Regions from separate parts of the Homo sapiens genome. Here regions 1, 2 and 4 are each linked to region 3. Evidence: promoter capture Hi-C in 16 types of primary human blood cells and fetal thymus (Javierre and others, 2016). All regions are on one chromosome and are shown on one strand. The core of a region is centred on a gene start or on the middle of the fragment in contact, and the rest is flanking DNA. Distances in the headings are between cores, read along the strand shown. Region 1 overlaps FASTKD1 (FAST kinase domains 1). Region 2 overlaps KLHL41 (kelch like family member 41). Region 3 holds the start of UBR3 (ubiquitin protein ligase E3 component n-recognin 3). Region 4 overlaps FASTKD1 (FAST kinase domains 1).

The links. The method cuts DNA at HindIII sites, captures the fragments that hold promoters and counts their contacts. A CHiCAGO score of 5 or more calls a contact.
Region 1: a contact is called between a fragment that was not itself captured here and the fragment with the promoter of UBR3 in region 3, in 1 of 17 cell types (non-activated CD4 T cells). The highest score is 5.5, in non-activated CD4 T cells.
Region 2: a contact is called between a fragment that was not itself captured here and the fragment with the promoter of UBR3 in region 3, in 3 of 17 cell types (total B cells, total CD8 T cells and naive B cells). The highest score is 5.8, in total B cells.
Region 4: a contact is called between a fragment that was not itself captured here and the fragment with the promoter of UBR3 in region 3, in 1 of 17 cell types (fetal thymus). The highest score is 8.2, in fetal thymus.

What each region holds. Positions count from the first base shown.
Region 1 is chr2:169,541,029-169,546,240 of GRCh38, reverse strand. FASTKD1 (FAST kinase domains 1) reads left to right here. Exons shown (of 15, transcript NM_024622.6): 8 at 1-23; 9 at 1,406-1,520. Among named protein-coding and RNA genes, the nearest start is that of FASTKD1, 30 kb to the left of the region's middle. The HindIII fragment of the contact is 3,346 bases long and covers 567-3,912 here.
Region 2 is chr2:169,522,604-169,527,557 of GRCh38, reverse strand. It overlaps KLHL41 (kelch like family member 41), which reads right to left. Exons shown (of 6, transcript NM_006063.3): 6 at 1,300-1,973. The coding sequence ends at 1,862. Among named protein-coding and RNA genes, the nearest start is that of KLHL41, 15 kb to the right of the region's middle. The HindIII fragment of the contact is 850 bases long and covers 1,786-2,635 here.
Region 3 is chr2:169,823,574-169,828,706 of GRCh38, reverse strand. UBR3 (ubiquitin protein ligase E3 component n-recognin 3) reads right to left here and starts at 1,253. Exons shown (of 39, transcript NM_172070.4): 1 at 655-1,253. The coding sequence starts at 1,199. It overlaps METTL5 (methyltransferase 5, N6-adenosine), which reads left to right and starts at 3,802. Exons shown (of 7, transcript NM_014168.4): 1 at 3,802-4,218. The coding sequence starts at 4,110. RefSeq lists silencers at 510-639, 900-1,459, 3,053-3,256. The HindIII fragment of the contact is 16,279 bases long and covers 1-2,509 here.
Region 4 is chr2:169,560,295-169,565,615 of GRCh38, reverse strand. FASTKD1 (FAST kinase domains 1) reads left to right here. Exons shown (of 15, transcript NM_024622.6): 4 at 2,266-2,391; 5 at 4,831-5,229. Among named protein-coding and RNA genes, the nearest start is that of FASTKD1, 11 kb to the left of the region's middle. The HindIII fragment of the contact is 7,307 bases long and covers 1-5,288 here.

The DNA.
Region 1 (5,212 bases), core at 990-3,489, 280 kb after region 3:
TGGCTGTTCAGCAGATTGAAAAGGTGAAATTTAAATGGTAGACATTAATTTTATAGAGTTGTCAACTTCTGCAAGCATAATTTTTATCATAGGCACTTTGAGAACTTGGATTGGAATTTGAGGTTTAAAAATTAAATAAATTCTGGGTCAGATGTGGTAGCTCAAGCCTGTAATTCCAGCGGTTGGGAGGCTGAGGTGGGAGGATTGGTTGAGCCCAGGAATTAAGGCTCAGTGAGCTATGATTGCACCACTGCACTCCAGCCTGTGTGACAGAGTGAGACCCTGTCTCTTAAGAAAAACAAAGAAAACTCTGGTTTCTATTTCAGCGATTTGTTGTTCCTCTCCTTAAAGTCACTTTCTCATTCCGGCATTGTAGATTTGGAAAGATCAGCAATCATTCTTTGGTTCATTACAGTATTAAGATTAGTAATCAATTCTTTGAGGATACTCATGTTAGGACAGTGGAGTATGAATGATTTTTGGTTTTACTTTTTCTTATTTCTGTAATCGTGTGGTATTATTTTTACCATTTAAAAACAATTATATTCAAAAGTGTGAGATAAGCTTGAAAACTGAGAAAATTATAAGGTATCCATTGGCAACTATATTCTTAAACTGTCATTGCATCTTCTTGCAGATTTATTTCTGGGACTTGTAAAATGCCGCTTTATGGATTATGTGAGAAGCAGCTCACTTACAAAATCACTATCATAAATATATCAGGGCAAGGCCTTTATTTAAAAGACAGTGTTTCTCACAAATGAAAATAAAAAGTTTGTCTTAACTTGCTTAGTATAGTGCCTGGAAGTCATTAAGTATTGGATGAATGAGTGAAAAATGAAATAAAAAAGCAAATGAAAGAAAAATAAATGCTAGTGATTATAATTTAAGAAACTTCTTTAATTATGATTATTCTATAAAATGTACTGATTATCATGGAAATTGCTGATACTGTTTCCTATTCAATTTAGTGACTAATGAATTCTGAAACAGAATTTATTTACTTATTTTAAATTTAAATAAAGACAGGGTCTCACTATGTTGCCCTGACTAATCTCGAACTCCTGGCCTCAAGCAATCCTCCCACCTCAGCCATCCAAAGTGTTGGGATGACAGGCATGAGCCACCACTCCCAGCCAGAACAGAATTTTACACCTAACAAAATAAATTTGTAAATTATCTGATTTACTTCTTTTTTGTTACATTAACACTTTTGGGGTTATTAATAATGTTGGTGGGGTTAAATAAATTATAGCAGGATGGAAAAATTAATAAGCAGGGTGATACATTTATTATTTAACTGTAGCGATGATAGGAAAAGATTTCTCCTAAAAAATAATTAGGTTAAAATTTTGTCTTATTTTCCTAAAGTTTAAACTATAAATTTTTTGTTCTTTTTATACAGATCCATCCTTTTACAATCCCTGCTATTATTCGTCCATTCAGCGTATTGAACTATGATCCACCTCAAAGGGATGAATTTTTGGGAACTTGCGTGCAACATCTTAATTCTTACTTAGGTAGGTATATTGTTTGGTAATACATTGAGTGAATAAGTCAGAGGATACTTGTTGCTGCTGAGCTAGGAGATGTCCCTCATTTAAAGGGTAACCATAATAGACATGAATTATCTACCTAAAAAAAGGTTTTTTGTTTGTTTGTTTGTTTTTGAGACAGAGTCTTGCTCTGTCGCCCAGGCTGGAGTGTAGTGGTGCGATCTTGGCTCATTGCAACCTCTGTCTCCTGGGTTCAAGTGATTCTCCTGCCTCAGTCACCCCAGTAGCTTGGACTATAAGCATGTGCCACCACACCCGGCTAATTTTTTGCATTTTTAGTACAGACAGGGTTTCACCATGTTGGCCAGGGTGGTCAGGAACTCCTGACCTCAGGTGATCCACCCGCCAAGGCTTCCCAAAGTGTTGGGATTACAGGTGTGAGCCACTGCGCCCGGCCCTATAAAAACTTTGTATCCATTTTAATTATGAAAAATGTCAAACTTGTATAAAGAATTAAACAAAGAACACATATATACTCACCGTGTAGATTCAATAATGTTAACATTTTACAGTGTTTGCCTTATCCGTTTGTTTCTCTGACTCTCTTATTTTTTTCTGAGCCATTTCAAAGTTGTAGTCATTGTGACCCTCCATCCCTAATTACTTTAGCATACATCTCCTAAGAATAATGACATTCTTCTGTACCACCACAATACTGTTGCCACACCTAAGAAACTTAATCATAGTCCCCTAATATCTAATACACAGTTCATGTTTCAGTCTCCCTAAGTGTTACCAAAATACATTTTAGAGTAGTTGTTTTGCACCCAGTATTCACTCATTGTGTTTGGTTGTTATCTCTTCAGTCTCTTATAGTTTAGAATTTTGTTTCCTTTTTTTCTTTTCTTGGCATTGACTTGGTTTTTTTTTTTCTTAACTTTTTGTTATCCAGGTTTTCAAATATACAGAAAAATTGAACAATACAACAAACATCTGTATAATAATAAACTGTATAATAATGAACTGTAGCCCCACAGTCGTGATTGAGTATTGATTAACATTTGCCACATTTGCTCTGTGTATGTGCACAAGCGCGTATGCGTATGATGAACCTTCCAGTTGTCAGCTCTGTGTACTTCAGGTTATAAGGACGTTCTCCTATGTAACTACAATACTGGTATCATTACCAGTACCAAAGAAAATGAACAAGTACCATCTACTACCTAGTCCGTAATCAAATTTTCCCGAGTCACCAAATTATCTTTTATAACTTTTTTTTTTGAGACAGAGTTTTGCTCTTGTTGCCCAGGCTGGAGTGTAATGGCACAATCTCGGCTCACTGCAACCTCCGCCTCCCAGGTTCAAGCGATTCTCCTGCCTCAGTCTCCCGAGTAGCTGGGATTACAGGCATGCGCCACTACGCCCAGCTAATTTTGTATTTTTAGTAGAGACGGGGTTTCTCCATGTTGGTCAGGCTGGTCTCGAACTCCCGACTTTAGGTGATCCACCCACCTCAGCCTCCCAAAGTGCTGGGATTACAGATGTGAGCCACCGTGCCTGGCTATAACTTTTTTTTAAACAACCAGCATTGAGTAGTTATGTCTTTTCCTCCATCTTTTTTGCTTGATATTTATTTTTATAAAATGATTGGCCATTTCTTATAAATTGTGCCACATTCTGGATTTGTCTGATTGTTTTCCTGTAACTTGCTTCTCCATCTCCTGCATTTGTAGTAAACTAGAAATTAGGTATAGATGCTTGGTTAGGTTCAGATTAAACATTTGCAGCAAAAATAACTTGTATGTAGTGCTGTATACCTTATATTTAGATCACATCTGGAGGCACATAATGTCTGATTGTTTCTGTCTATTTAGATTTTGGTTTTCTTTTTGAGACGGAGTCTTGCCAGATTGTTTTTTAAAAGTAAAAAAATGTTTCTTAAGAACCTTAATAGATGTTTGTAAATTGTTTGAAGGGTTGCTGCTCTTATGCTGATTATTTTGCATCTCTTAAAAAGGTCTTTAAAAAAATTATCTTTTAAATTTAGAGATGGGGTCTTGCTACGTTGCCCAGGCTGATATCAAATGCCTGGGCTCAAGCGGTCCTCCCACCTTAGCCTCCCAAGTGCTGGAATTACAGGCGTGTGCCACCACACCTGGCCAGAAAAGTCTTTTGGTAATATTTCAGTACTAGAAAAAAGTAGAATAGAAATAGTCCTTCCTGCTGTTAGCCTTAGCAGAAGCAATATGTGAGGACAGCAGAGACAGGAAATTACTTTTTCTTTTTCCTTTTCCTTTTCCTTTTTATTTTGGGTCCTGAGTTGTGTTTGGAACAGTTTGACCTTGAAGGATTAGAGCTTTATGAGACTTTTCTTCTCAGACTCACACTATGTACTTGTCAGTATGATATAGAAGCTTTAGAGGAGAAATGCTCAGTAACCGTTCCTTTTCAGTCAACACTTTCCATGTACTTACTGTCAGGTATTCTTCTAGGCGCTGGAGATACAGGAGAGAGTAAAAACAGATAAACTACCATGATCGAGTTTACTTTCTGTTAGGGGGAGATTGACATAAACAATAAACAAGGCTCTAAGGTCAGATGGTGATAAGTACCTTCAAGAACATTAGAGCAGGGTAAGTGTGTAGGCTGGAGCATCATGGTAAGTGTGAGATGGAGTGCTATTTTGGATAAGGGATTCAGGGACTGCCTCTCTGAGGAGATGTCATTTAACCATGGATTAAATGAATTGAGAGAGTGATGCATGTCAAGAGTTAGGGAAGAGAGTCCCAGGATGAAAGAAAGGGAACTGGAAAGGGCCCTCGGGTGAGAGCATGTTTGGTTTTTTTCCAGGAACAGTGGATTCAGTGTGGCAGGAGTAGATGAGGGAGACCGAGTTGGTAGGAGATAAAGTTGGAGAGACAGCCAGAGACTGGTTTCCTCAGATCTTTTTGCTCTGCCTGGAGAGTAAGAATTACCCAGTTATCTACCAAGCAACAGATACTGAGAGCTTCCATATCCAGCATAACATGTTAGGCTCTACATTAGGGATTTATATAGATCTTTAGACCTCTGGTGAAGCTGGTATGAAGCAAGTATAAATATATTAATTGTGTCTGCATCATGCTAATGGACTTTGCTACATTTTTGTGGGATCTATGGGCCAGACAGCATCTAACCATGTCTGATACTACTGTGTCACAGCCTACAACGTGAGGCTGGGATATATGTATGTATATATGTATATGAATGTGTTGCATGTATGGTATACATTTATACCCCTTTTTAGTAACACAACTATATGTAGAAAGATGAGACTTTAAATTGAGACTTAGACTGTATTCTCCTGGTTGTTCAGTCATGTGTTGACAACCAGAAGGAAATGAAAGTGCATCTCTTCCCAGGTTCTCCAAATAGAGTCTTAGAAATTAGAAAATTTTGTTGCTAAAGAGTATAAGGAAAGAAAGATTGAGAAGTACAGCTTTGAGTTTTTAAAACTTAATCAGAGAAAGTTTTAAAAATTCCTAGGGAACTTTATAAGTAAAATTTTAAATAACTAATGGAGTAATAATTTTCATTGTTTTGAGTAAAGACGAATTTTGACAGATTAGTTTTGCTGGTAGAAATCATCACTATTAACTTCATTTATGATCTGGTCTTTCTTTATTAAATAAACTTAGAAAAAATTGAAAAGGAAAGATTTAATGTTGTCTCTTCTG
Region 2 (4,954 bases), core at 961-3,460, 300 kb after region 3:
TGGAGCTCAAGTGGTAATGCTCACTTGCCTGCCCACTGTTCACCTCTTGCTATGTGGCCCAGGTGGGGACCCTTGCTCTAGGCTATCTGATTCAAATGGTTTTCTTTATATAGATACTCTTATTTTTTGATTGATGATTTTTCTATCTAAATAACTTAGATTGTTATAAACAAAAGCATTTTTTATTGAGATATAAATCCCATACTATAAAATTCACCCTTTAAAAGTGTATAATTCAGTGGTTTTTAGTATATTTGTGCAACCATCACCCATATCTGATTCCAGAACATCATCATCCTCAAACCCTGGAAGAAGCATTATTTTTACAACTTAATTTTACATCTATGTAGATTGGCATTCTCTCCCTAAAATTAACCTCAATCCTGATTTTATAGTAAGTACTTCTTACAGTTTTATCACCCAGATGTACATTTCCGGACACCATTATCCCTGTGGCCCCCTCTTCCTCTACACTTTTGAGTCTGTCTTTATAAGTGCCCCTTCCTCTTCCTAACAGTTTATTTGTTGAAGAACCTGTAGGATTTTCCACTTTGGGAATTTCATGATTCTGTATTCATGCTATAATTTAAGAAAAGTATTTTTCAATATAGAAAAGTAATCAGGATTCTACTTTAAATACCCAAAATAAAACTTGTTTCTGTTAAATATATTTCTGTATTTATGGTAGAGAAAAAAAGGTGTATGGACACTTAGATCTGTTCTTTATGCAACTCCTTGACAAATAATCATGAATGTTCCAAATTAGTCCCAAGTCAGGTTTTTCAGAAAATAATATGGGTAAGGATAGAAGTCAAATATATGTCTATGAAAGCTATGTGAGACTCATAAGTTGGTGTGTGGCTAAAAGTGATGATTAATTGATGACTTGCACAGAGTTGAATGTGATGGTTATGAGCAGATTGAGGAGTCAACTTACTATATGCACTAAGAAGGAACAGTGAATGGAGGATATCACATCCCAGAAAATGAAATAATACAGTCACCTTCCTTGCTGTCAGAAATTTAGCAAATAGGTAGCCCTTTCATGGAGTGTAGCCAAAATTTAAACCAGTGAATACACTTCCTCCTCCACATCACCCACTGACCCCAACTGCTGTCCCAGCAGTTTAAAGAATCAATCCATTTCCTAAGGGTGCTCCCTCACCCTCCTGCCACAGATGCTGTAGTTAATGGCTTGAAGACTGTGATTTACTGGTTTTAAATTAAAATTTTAAAAATTTGATTTGGAAACCACAAATAATACGCCAGTGTCGCAAAAAGAATGGAGAGAAAAGGCCATTTGAATTTGACTACTTTTACTTACAAGAGACTTTTCCCCATCAAACGATTTCCCCATCCATTTATTACACTTCTGAAGTAGGATTTCTGAAGTCATCTTATGGCATGTAATTCTTAGTATAATGCACAGGATTCCTGTCATTTTGAAGCACGAGGAGAGGTTTTTGATATCTTAAACATTTTTTTAGTGTAGATGCACATATTCTCCACTTCCAATTGTAATAGAAAATCAGTTTAAGGATACCCTAATGATGCAAATGAAATGATTAGCAAACAACTCAAATTTAGGAGCCTTCTTTACAATCCATTGAGTGAAACAGATTCACAAAATAATTTGTTCAACTGAAGATTTAATTTATTATTAGAAAATGGTTTTAAACTCTGATCATTACATTGAAGAGTCAATGACTGAGGTTTTCTTACCTACTGCTCATCTCTTAGACAATAACTTCTTGAATAATTTCTACATGAGTGTCTGTACAAGCTTTTAAAAAACAGAATAAATTAAAGCCCCATTCACCAAACAAACCACCTCCCAATCTATTATGTTTTGTCACCTTGTTCACAGTTTAGACAGTTTGAAGAGATTTAAACGTGTTGCTAGGCAACTAGCTCCTGAAGCATAACGTATTTCCTTCAACATCCCAGCCCATTCTTTTTTATCATCTTCATACCTGATGGAGGAAAAAAAAAGTAATCAATAAGCAGCTTTAGTTCCATAGGTTTCCCTGTGTTCAGAATACAAATGTGGATCTTTGAAAAAACCCTAGTGGCTCTTACTCAGAAGAAGATGCACCTGCCTGGTAGAACAGAACTTAAATATCTCCCAAATATGCATTGTCTGGATGAGCATGTGCCTGAACTACTGCCACAGTATTTAATCTGGATGCCTAGGCAGTTCAGCATTCTCTGGGAATCAAAGACTGCAGAGAAGAGGAATAAATAGCTAAGCAGTTAAACATTCATTCACCTTTGAATTGATGAAGATGGCTGGTCTCTGAGTCAAAGTAAGCAGACTCTTGCTTAAGAGAAAGAACTGAGGAAGAGCAGGGACTATCGGTAGACTTAATTATGCCTTCAATTGTTCCTATACACTAGTGCCTAGCATGGCACCTGATACACAGCTGTCACTTTATGAAAATTTGTTCCCCTTCCCCTTTATTGTTCTGTTTGAGGACTACTCTTAGACTTTGCACTTGACTTAGGTAAGAACTGGTCTTCATCTCTGAATATTCAAGGTTATAAAGATACAGATAACTTGAATTCCCTTGTACGATGTGTGCTGAACATGTCTGCTCTGCCTGGTGCCTGGAATATTTTCTTTGTGTGGGAAGCTTCTAAATGCCGCCTTCTCTCTGAAACCTTTCTCACCTTCCTTAAGCACAGTTTGTTGCTTTCTCTTTCTCATATCATCCTTTATATGGTATTATAGCAATTATCACTCCATTTTAATTCCCCCCCCCATATCAATGTCCTCAAGCCTCAAAGGCATCTGAGGACAAATAATATATTAATATCTCTCCACAAATTGTCAAGACCTGGCACAAGACAACCCCAAATCAGCCAGGTGTGGTGGCTTACACCTGTGATCCCAGCACTTTGGGAGGCCGAGGGGGGCAGGTCACCTGAGATCAGGAGTTTGAGACCAGCCCGGCCAATATGGCAAAACCCCGTCTCTACTAAAAATATAAAAATTAGCCAGGCATGGTAGTGTGCGTCTGTAATCCTAGCTACTCCGGAGGCTGAGGCAAGAGAACTGCTTGAACCCGGGAGGCGGAGGTTGCAGTGAGTCAAGATTGCACAGCAAGACTCCATCTCAAAAAAAAAAAAAAAAAAAAAAGATTTACCCCAAATCATTCTGTGATGAATGGAGATTTAAAATAATTATTAAAATTAGCTTGTACCTACATAAGACATGCTCTGACTTAATTTCATCAATGTTCCAAATTAGTTCTCAATAATTGTACCATGCACTGATTTTTATGTAGAGGAAAGCATACAAAAAATATTTTGCTACTAATAAAGGGAATAACCTTAATTACATAAAATTCAGGGCAACAAATTAAGAGATAAATAATAGTTTTAAATGACCTAAAGAAAGTGACCACATTTAAACAATATGAGGTTAAGGTTAAATGAGGTTTAAAAATGTTTGCTTCCTGGCAGTTATATTTACTTTCAGCTTGGTCAATCCTAAATAATGGAATGATTTCAAGAAAAAAATACAAGAATGGAATTTTTTTTTTACGTATAGTAAGAGGGTCTATGTTGAGAATGTTGTATACTGAGAGTTTTCACCTCTGCATGTGTGGTTAGGGAGGTTCACTAGGAAATTGAGGGCAAATAGGCAGCCACGTTTCTCTAGATCGGCGGCCTTCAACTTTAACACACATCTAAGTCACCTGGAGGGTTTGTGCAAACACAGATCGCTGGCCCTATCACCCCCAGAGTTTCTAATTTAACAGATTTGAAGTGAGACCTGAGAATCTGCCTTTCTGATAAGTACCCAGGTGAGGCTGATGCTGCTTTGGGAACCACTGTAGTAGATTACAGGTTCTCAAACTTAATTGCCAATAGAACCAGCTGGAGATGTTAAAGATACTGATGCCTAGGTCCTACTCTCAGAGATTGAGTTAATTGGTATGAAGGGTGGCCTGGGCATCAGGATTTTTTAAAGCTCCCCAAGTGTTTCTAATATGCAGCAAAGTTTGAGAATCATGCTCCAGATCCTACCCCAAATTAGGAAATACCAGTCTCAAAATAGCCAAGCAGATAGTGATGAATGCCCCCCTCTTCTCTTTACCCAATCCAGTGGTTCCCAAACTTGTCTACACATATAGAAACATCCATGGATCTTTTAAAATTTCCAAAGCCCAGGCCATACTTCAGACCAATTAAATTGCAGTCAATATAAGTGGGATAGAGGTGTTAATATTTTTTGAAGCACCCTGGTGATTCGAACGTGCAGGCAACTTTGGGAACCACTGCTCTAATCGCAAAATAAACCACAATCAGAGAGGATCCCTCTTTTAGGTTCCCTAAACAATGTCAGGGCCACTTTTATAGCAGGAGATTCTGTACTTTCTTTTGCTGCCTGTAACTGTTCCCTGCAGGGGCAGCATGGCTTTTGATAACCCTTAGGAACCAGGAGGGCTTCAGGGAGGTCCCACTGATTGACAGCACAATTACTTAATATCAGTGTTTCTCAACCCTGGCTGCTGATTAGAATCATCTGGGGCTGGGCTCGGTGGCTGACGCCTGTAATCCCAGCACTGTGGGAGGCTGAGGTGGGTGGATCACCTGAGGTCAGGAGTTCAAGACCAGCCTGGCCAATATGGTGAAACCCCATCTCTACTAAAAATACAAAAATTAGCCGGGCATGGTGGTGCACACCTGTAGTCCCAGCTGCTCCAGAGCCTGAGGCAGGAGAATCGCTTGAACCCAGGAGCTGGAGGTTGCAATGAGCCAAGATCACATCACTGCACTACAGCCTGGGTGACAGAGTGAGACTCTGTCTCACCAAAAAAAAAAAAAAAAAAAAAAAAAAAAAAAATCACTGGGAAGGTTTTAGGAACTAGGGATGCTCAACTCTACCTCCAGAAATTTTGATATAATTGGTCTGTGTTAAGGCCCAGACACTGGTATATTTTAAAAG
Region 3 (5,133 bases), core at 4-2,503:
AGCCCAATTCTAAATGTCATTCCAGCATACCAAATAATCCACTGACAGCTCAACAGTCACTTTTCATGCAGGCCCCTCCCCTTCCCTCCTCCCTCAACCCTCAAGAGCTCCTTCTCTCACAGTGACAGACACACTGGCAGTTCAGAAGACCTTTTCCTCAAGCGTCCTTCCCTGCACGTACAAGACCACCTCCCCAGCTCTCATCATCCCGCGAGCCAATACGGTCCCCAATAACATCCCCTCCCAGCCAATCCAAATCACAACCTAAGTCTCTTCCCAAGAACCAGGCTTTACAGCCTTTCCCAACAAGTACACACTTGACAGCTCGACACGAGCTTCCCCAAAAATCATTTCCCCTCACTCCCCTCCTACCCCATACACTGGCTCTTTTCTCGCTATCATTTACCCACCCTGGCTTCCCCAAAATTCACAGCCCGGTTTCCTAAACATGCTCTCCGCTCTCCTCTCCCCTCCTTCTCCTCCCCACCCCCTTTCCACCGCTGACAGCTCAGTCACCTCCATCCCCCTGTGGCTGCACCCTCCCCCGCACCCTCCCCTTGACAGCTCAGAGTGGGCTCCCAGTGCTCCGCTCCAGGCCCTCCCGCGACGTCCCCGGCCCAGGGTCGCCTCGCCCGCGGGGAGGGCTCCACTCACCCGCTCTCCCGCATCACGTTGCTGTCCCCGCAGTCGCAGGCGCCCCCGGCCTGGCTGCGGAACATGTTGAAGTCGTGTCCGGTGTGGTCGCCCTGGTGGAAGCACTCGGCGCACAGCGACATGCAGGGCGAGATGCCGCACGTCCGGCAGCGGTAGGCCACGAAGTTGGCTGTCCAGACCAGGCCGCAGAGCGCCGCGGGATCGTAGGCCCGCACCGCCGCGCAGAACTCGTCGTAGCCGCCGCCGCCCGCCAGAAGGCACTTACACCACTCCAGGGCCTCCTCCTCGGCCGCCCCCGGACCGCCCCCGCCTCCGGCCGCCGCCGCGTCCTCGCCGCCGGCAGCCGCGGCCAGCGGCCGCTCGGCGCTCAGCACCCGCTCCAGCAGCGCCTGCAGCTCCTCAGCACCTGCGCGGTTGTCCGGCCGGCTGAGGGCCGCCTTGAGGTGCGCGGCGGTGGCCGCCTTGTCTAGGGCCAGCCCCGGCGCGGGCAGCTCGGGCTGTGACGGCTGCTGGCCCCCGACGGCCGCCGCGGCCGCCGCCGCCATGATGAGAGCTCAGAATTTGGAGAGTCCAGGGCCAGCGGCTCCTCCAGGGAGAGTGAGGGAATAGACTGCTGCGATTGCTCGGCCCGCCCAACTCTCGCGATACCCGGAGCGTCCGCGCTCCTCCGCCCGCAGCCCCGCCCCTACACACGCCCCCTCGGGCTGCAGAGCCTTCCTCCCGCCCCTCTCTCCTGGGCGCCTGTGGACCAAGCTAGGCTCCCAACTTTCTAAGTTAAGAGCTACTGAAATAAAGTACTCACCTTATAGGAAATCTTTAATAAGGGCAATTATTTCTTTATTTGCATAGACTACAGGAATTATTCACATCATCTTTCAGATGTACTTTAGGCATCTGCATTTTGTCTGAGATGTACATTCCTACTGTTATCAAAGTCCAGCGGGCGACAGAATGAAACCCCAACTTAAGGAAAACAAAAACTGTAGGAAAAGCAATCCAAAGAAGAACAGAAGGCCAGGCGCGGTGGCTCACGCCTGTAATCCCAGCACTTTGGGAGGCCGAGGCAGGCGGATTACTTGAGGTGAGGAGTTTGAGATCAGCCTGGCTGACATGGTGAAACCCTGTCTCTACTAAAAATACAAAAATTAGCCGGGCATGGTGGCGCACGCCTGTAATCCCAGCTACTCCGGAGGCTGAGGCAGGAGAATCACTTGAACCCAGGAGGCGGGGGTTGTAGTGAGCCGAGATCGCGCCACTGCACTCCAGCCTGGGTGACAAAGCGAGACTCCGTCTCTAAAAACAACAACAACAACAACAACAACAAAGAAGAACAGGAGTGTTTCCAATCCATAACCTTGTGTTTGAAATGAATGAAACATAATTAAAACAGGTTATTCCTGGTCTTCTACATGAGTTAAGTATGTCACGATCATCATATAACAGTGATAAGTTAAATTTGCTCAATAATTTTACGAATCACTAAATTATAAACTAAATAAAACTTTATGTATTAACTTTACATGCTAAAACTTTGTATGTTTTAACTCATTTGATTCTCATAACAGATAACTTTGAATTCTGCTATTCCTAGAAGTAGCAGCCTCAGACACTTCTCTACTTCGTCATCGTCCATTCACTCTTTTTCTTCTTCCTATAATAATGCAAAGAGGTGTCCATCCACAGGCTTAAACGCAATCCTGCAATCCTTTTACTTAACCACTGGATCCTGCCTTCTCAGGATCCCAACTCCATCCAATATCCTCTTGCATTTTTAACCCCTCTCTTTCTATTAGCTCAATTCTTGTCAGAATTTGTCTCCTCCTGTCTTAAAAATAATTGAAAAAATAATAAAGCTTCCCCCATTACTAAGCATCCAACCATTCTTTTCGTAGGCCACCTTTCTCTTTCTCTTTCTTTTCTTCTTTCTTTTTTTTTTTTTTTTTTTTGAGACAGGGTCTCACTGTCGACCAGACTGGAGTGCAGTGGCGCAATTTCAGATCACTGGAAGCTTTGCCTCCCGGGCTCAAGCGATTTTCCCACCCCAGCCACCCGAGCAGCTGGGACCACAGGCTCGCGTCATCAGACCCAGCTAATTTTTGTATTTTTAGTAGAGACAGGGTCTCCTTATGTTGCCCAGGCTGGTCTCAAACTCCCGTCTCAAGCAATCCGCCCATCTCGGCCTCCCAAAATGTTGGGATCACAGGGGTGAGCCACCGCTTCCGGGGCCACGTTTAATTGTTCACATTTACTCTTTCTTCTTCCTAAATTTCCATTCGCTCCACAATCTGCTACAACTTAATTTCTGCTCCTACTTTATGAAGCCCGACCTCTTTCCAGTATTTGACACCACTACCTATTCTTTTATTTTCATTTCCACTGTCTTTTTTTTTTTGAGACGGAGTCTCGCTCTGTCTCCCAGGCTGGAGTGCAGTAGCTTGATCTCGGCTCACTACAAGCTCCGCCTTCCGGGTTCACGCCATTCTCCTGCCTCAGCCTCCCGAGTAACTGGGACTACAGGCGCCCGCCACCAAGCCCGGCTAATTTTTTTGTAATTTTAGTAGGGACAGGGTTTCACCGTGTTAGCCAGGATGGTCTCAATCTCCTGACCTCGTGATCCACCCACCTCGGCCTCCCAAAGTGCTGGGATTACAGGCGTGAGCCGCCGCGCCCTGCCTCTCCACTATCTCTTCTTTGGGTTTCTTTGACATCACCACTCCTGTGAGAATTGCAAGTGACACAAATGACCTAAAAATTGGGAAACAAAGTTACAATAAAATAAGGCATGAGAATGGAGAAGGAGGTAAAGGTGAATGGAGATCGCTACTTTTTGAGCCGAGACTTGGGAAACAAGAAGAGTCACTCTGGGCCATACAACAAAGTGACTGTGACTTTCTCTCCCGCATCCCTTTCACTCTGTCTTTCCCCATCCTTTGAGGGCCCGCAGGTACTCATGGCAAACTAGAGGGTAATGAGCACGCGACAGGCGGCGAGGACTGGCGGTGGGTCAGCAAGTAGCGCAGGCTTTGCAGGCGGAGGGGATGGGGCAATGAGGCCCCCAGGTGGCCAGCGGAACCCCGGCTCAAGATAAACGCTGCAGCTCGGCGCCGGGCCGCTGGGCGGCGAACGCGTGCGCGCGTGCGGCCTGGCGCTTCCGGCACCGGCCGAGGTGCGGGTCGCCTCCAGAGGTGCGTGGTCGTGGCGCGAGGGATCCTGAGGCTGCTCCAGCAGTGCGCCGCCGCCGTCTCCTGGGGCGGCTTGGGTTAGCCGGGAGGTGGGTCAGAGGCTCGCCCCGTGCCCTGCGTCCGGGCGTCTCCTTAGGGCGCGTCTTCGGGTCCGGCCAGCGGTGCTGAAAAAGGGAGAAGGTTGGGGGTAGGGAGGAAACAAGATCCCAGTTCAATAGATTTCTCCGCAGATCCTGTGCCTTCAAACCCTACGAGTCCATACTTTAAAACAAAATGAAGAAAGTAAGGCTTAAGGAACTAGAGAGTCGCCTGCAACAAGTGGATGGATTTGAAAAGCCCAAGCTACTTCTGGAACAGTATCCTACCAGGCCGCACATTGCAGGTAGGGCGGCTGGTTCACCACGCCCCGGCTTTCGGCGTTAGTCCAGTCTACTCTGTGATAAAAATAGAACAGTTATTTGGATACAGAGAATGTCTAGAGAAATTCTGCCCTAAGATCACCTGTCGCGTTAGAGAGGCCTTCCTTGACACTGCAGCTCAAGGCACACCCTCCACAGACATACACACTATCATTTTACTGTCTAGTTTTCTGCATATCCCTTAACACTGCCAGACATCTTTTTAATGTGTTTTTTTCTCTTCTCACATTACAATCTCTGAGGACAAGGAATTTGTTAGACTTGTTCATACTTGAATTCCCAGTGCCCAGAAGAGTCGCTGGTACTATTTAGGAGCTCAGTAAACATTTACTAAATAAGGATCAGTTTCCCATTGCTACTAATTGCCTACGCAAGGATTCTTGTGCTATATACTCTGCCCTAGAAATGAATACCAGAGTTGATAGTGGAATGATAGTTTAACAAAATCAGAGTATGTGCTGTGTAAAGATGAGCATGCATATTTTAACAGATTTTCTGAGCATTAGCATTGTTGCTTCATGCCAGATATTGATACTGGGAGTACAAGAGAGAATACAGGACAACATATATTTATGTTACCGAAGTCATTGGGAAACCTTAGGGGAAAAAAATTTTATTATTATTATTTTTTGAGATAAGGGTCTCACTCTGTCACCCAGGCTGGAGTGCAGTGGCATGATCACGGCAACTGCAGCCTTGACCTCCAGGACTCAAGTGATCCTCCTACCTAAGCCTCCCGAGTAGCTGGGACTACAGGCATGCACCGTCATGCCTGGCTAATATTTTTTATTTTTTGTAGAGACAGCGTCTTGCTATGTTGCCCAAGATGGTCTCAGACTCCTGGGCTGAAGCGATCTTCCCACTGGGGCCTCAAGAAG
Region 4 (5,321 bases), core at 386-2,885, 260 kb after region 3:
TTTGAAAGCAACATAAGTGTCCATCAACAGATGAATGGATAAAGAAAATGTGGTGGCTGGGCGCGGTGGCTCACGCCTGTAATCCCAGCACTTTGGGAGGACAAGGCGGGCGGATCATGAGGTCAGGAGATCGAGACCATCCTGGCTAACAAGGTGAAACTCCGTCTCTACTAAAAATACAAAAAGTTAGCCGGGCGTGGTGGCGGGCGCCTATAGTCCCAGCTACTCCTGAGGCTGAAGCAGGAGAATGGCGTGAACTCGGGAGGCGGAGCTTACAGTGAGCCGAGATCGCGCCACTGCACTCCAGCCTGGGTGACAGAGCGAGACTCCCTCTCAAAAAAAAAAAAAAAAAAAAAAAAAAAAAAAGCCTGGTGTGGTGGCTCACGCCTGTAATCCCAGCACTTTCGGAGGCCGAGGCGGGCTGATTACCTGAGGTCAGGAGTTCGAGACCAGCCTCAACATGGAGAAACCCTGTCTCTACTAAAAATACAAAATTAGCTGGGCATGGTGGTGCATGCCTGTAATCCCAGCTACTCGGGAGGCTGAGGCAGGAGAATTGTTTGAACCTGGGAGGCGGAGGTTGCAGTGAACCGAGATCGCGCCATTGCACTCCAGCCTGGGGCAACAAGAGCGAAACTGCGTCTCAAAAAAAAAAAAAAAAAAGAAAAATGTGGTATATATACACAATGGGGTAATATTCAGCCGTAAAAAAAATGATATCCTGTCATTTGCAACATGGGTGGAACTGGAGATTATTATGTTAAGTGAAATAAGCCAGGCACAGAAAGATAAACGTCGCATGCTTTCACTCATTTGTGGGAGCTAAAAATCAAAACAATTGAACTAATGGACGTAGAGAGCAGAACGATGGTTACCAGAGGCTGGGAAGGGTAACGGGCGATTGTGGGGGAGGTGGGGATGGTTAATGGGTAAAAAAAAATAAAATGAATAAGACCTACTATTTGACAGCACAACAGGGTGACTATAGTCAATAATAACTTAATTATACATTTTAAAGTAACTTAGAACGTAATTGGATTGTTTGTAACTCAAAGGATAAATGCCTGAGGGAATGGATACTCCATTTTTCATGATGTGTTTATTTTGCGTTGCATGCTTGTATCAAAATATCTCATGTACCCCATAAATATATGTACCTACTATGTACCCACAAAAAAAATTTTTTTTTTAATTTTAATAAAAATGCTGAGGTTGGAGGATCACTTGAGCCTAGATGTTCAAGTTCAGCCTGGGCAACACAGTGAGACACTGTGTCTTAAAAACATAATAAAATTGATAAATTTAAATTTTCGATATTACCTAGTACCTTGTCTGTGTTCAAATTTTGTTGATTGTCTTATAAAGGTCTTTTTATAGGCAGTTTATTTAAATCAGTTTCTGAGTAAGGTTCACAATTACTGTGTCTCTTAAATTTTTTTGTTTCTTTTTAAATAAACTTTACAGAAAAATAATGTATAAAAATTATACTAGTCATAAGCATACAGCATGATGAATTTTAATATACTGATCATTGCTATGTAACAGCACCAAGATAAGGAAACAACATCATTAGTTCTTTTCATGTTCTCTTCTAGTCCTCTCACCCAAAAAGGATCTTGACCTCTAACACCATAAATTGTTTCTATAGAAATGGAATCCTATAGTATGTACCCTTATAGTTTAGTTTGCTCAGTATGTTTTAAGGATTTATCCATTATGTTGTATGATTCCATAATTTTATTCTATTGTATGAGTATGTGCAGTTTATCCATTGTACTCTTGATGGACATTCGGGTTTTTTGCAGGGTTTTGCTATTACATATGTGTTGCTGTGAATTTTCTTATGCTTGTTTTTTAGTGAATTCAAAGTCATAAAATCTATAACAGTTCCTTTTTCCTCTCTTTTGTCTTGCCATTTTCTTGTTGAAGAAATTGGATTATTTCTCCTATTAAAAAAATTCATAGCACTGTTGTAGTAGCAGCCATTATATTTGTTAATATGCAACCTTGAGTCAAAATTGTTCTGTCATCTAAAAAAATTAAGTAAATCATTCAAATAATTTTTAGTGATTTTCCCCCTTTCAAAACCTTTCTACAGTATCTGACTTTTTAACTGTTGCCATGTTACTTTTATAATAATAACATTTTAGAAAAAAAATTTTATGTAATTTACTATTTTGATTGCTTTTAATTTTATAACTATATATTATGTGTTTTAAGTGAAAGTAAATACTAATGTTCTCCTTTGTATATTTCCTTTAATAGGTTTGATATTAAACTGCTCTCAGAATTTTCCTCTTGCCTAGCAGATCAGCATTTGTATTTTAGTCCATTAATGGGAAAAATAGCTGATATTGTTCATAGGAACTTGGAAACCACACAGGACTTAAGGTAAATTTATTTAGGGAATCTTGTGTTGTGGTGGAAAGATCCTGGGCTTTGGATGTGGATGCAGTCAGATTTGCTACTCTTAGTTTATGTGACTTAAGGTTACTTAAGCTCTTGGAAGTTCGTTATCCTCATCTGCAAAAGAGGGATAGTAATAGCTACTTTGCAATATTGCTGTGGGGATTAGACATAAGGTACATAAAGTGTAATACAATATTGTTGAGGTCTGTGGAGGATCTGAGTTTTTACCTATTTGCAAGCTAAGTTTGCCTGCCACATTTTCCTACGTGTGCCGTAGGAAGGCCTGAGACTCCGAGGTCAGAGAGAGGACTTTGTTTTTTATAGCAATAGCAGTAGCAGAGTACCAGAATTTTCTTGTGTTGATTCCCTGAGCTCTCGTTCCCATAATGGGTTGTGATCCAGGAGAGGAGCTCTGAGCTTAGGAAACCTGAATCTTTTATAATAAAGCATGCCTACTCTGCTCCAACAGGAGACATTATCTCTATTCTCCTAGGCTGTTTGCTATGCAAACATCCTTGAAAAGATAGTTCTGAACAAAGGCAGTCAGAAACCCACTGAAAATGGCCTCTGAATAAGTATCTAGAACATAGAAGTTTCTCAGTAATGGATAGTAGGTATTATTATTATATCATGAAGTAAACCCAAGAAGTATTTAAATTAAGTATGAATTCATTGGCCAGGCATGGTGGATCACACCTGTAATCCCAGCACTTTGGGAGGCCGAAGTGGGTGGATCACTTGATGTCAGGAGTTCGAGACCAGCCTGGCCAACATGGCAAAAATCCCATCTCTACAAAAAATACAAAATTAGCTGGGCATGGTGGCGGGCGCCTGTAATCCCAGCTACTCGGGAGGCTGAGGCACAGGAATTACTTGAACCTGGGAGGTGGAGGTTGCAGTGACCTGAGATTGTGCCACTGCACTCCAGCCTGGGCAACAGAGCAAGACTCTGTCTCAAAACAACAATAACAAAAAACGAAAAAAAAACAGTAACAAAACTTGAAACAACAACAACAAAATCCAAAAAAACCAAAAAATAAATTAATAAATAATTAATTTACAATAAATTAATAAATAATTAATTTACAATAAATTAATAAATAATTATTTTACAATAAATTAATAAATAATTATTTTACAATAAATTAATAAATAATTAATTTACAATAAATTAATAAATAATTAATTTACAATAAATTAATGAATAATTAATTTACAATAAATTAATGAATAATTAATTTACAATAAATTAATAATTAATTTATAATAAATTAACAAATAATTGATTTACAATAAATAAATAATTTATAATAAATAATTTACAATAAATTAATAAATAATTATTTTACAATAAATTAATAAATAATTTACAATAAATTAATAAATAATTTACAATAAATTAATAAATAATTTACAATAAATTAATAAATAATTTACAATAAATTAATAAATAATTTATAATGAATAATTAATTTATAATAGATTAATAATTAATTTATAATAGATTAATAATTTATAATGGATTAATTTATAATTAATTTATAAACAAATTCACAAATTTTACATACAATTATGTCTTTTTTATTCTTTCCATCTGGGAATACTTTCTTTTCAGTTTCATAAAGGAGAGTTAATAGTTACATTTGCTGAATGTCAAGGAACTATTAATTTGAAACTAACATTTAAGGAGTTTCTCTGGTTTTCATACCAGTGGTTTGAGGGTTTGTTTTGTTTTTAACATAAGATTACTTACTGTCAATGCTAACCTTCATAATCCAGTACTATGATTGTCTTTGGCGTTTCAGATACAGCTTTTTCTCTCATATTTACAAAGTGATTAGCACTTTGGTAAAATTAAATTATAGTAGTTTCCTGCTCTTCTTGCCCCACTCCACCCTACTTCCCTGCCTTTTTTTTTTTCTTTTGAGATGGAGTCTCCCTCTGTTTCCCTGACTGGAGTGCAATGATGCAACCTCTGCCTCCTGGGTTCAAGCGATTTTCCTGCCTCAGCCTCCTGAGTAGCTGGGATTACAGGTGCTCGCCACCACATCCAGCTAATTTTTATATTTTTAGTGGAGATGGGGTTTCACCATGTTGCCAGGCTGGTCTCAAACTCCTGACCACAAGTGATCTGCCCACCTCGGCCTCCCAAAGTTCTGGGATTACAGGCATGAGCCACCATGCCCAGCCCCTTGCCTTTTTTTTAAAAAAAATACACTTATGTGGCTGGGTGCAGTGGCTCATGCCTGTAATCCCAGCACTTTGGGAGGCTGAGGTGGGAGGATTGCTTAAGCCCAGGAGTTTGAGACCAGCCCTGGCAACATAGCAAGACTCTGTTTCTACAAAAAAAAAAAAAAAAAAAAAAAAGAATTGATCATTCTTAATTGATGTAAAAATCTTTGCATCTTTTTTCTTTTTCAGTTCCTTGTCTGTCTTGATGGTCAACATATCTTCTTTAATATCACGACATTTTCAACAACAACTGGTGAACAAAACAGAACTTCTTTTTGACACCATAGATTCTTCTGAGGTCAACGTTGCAAAAAGCATAGCAAAGTTTCTTCGAAATGTTAGATATCGTTATCAACCACTATTAGAAAGATGTAATAACGTATTTTTAAGTAATGTGGACCACCTTGATTTGGATTCCATCAGTAAAATACTTAGTGTATACAAATTTCTACAATTTAATAGTTTTGAATTTATTATAATGGCTAAAAAGAAGCTAACTGAAATGATTCCTCTGTGTAATCATCCTGCTAGCTTTGTAAAATTGTTTGTAGCATTGGGACCCATTGCAGGACCTGAAGAAAAGAAACAGTAAGTTCAGTTTAAAATGCATTACTTTTTTTGTTGTGAATACGTGGAGCCTTCAAGCTTAGGTCTCCTTGCAGCTCTGGAAGGTACAAATA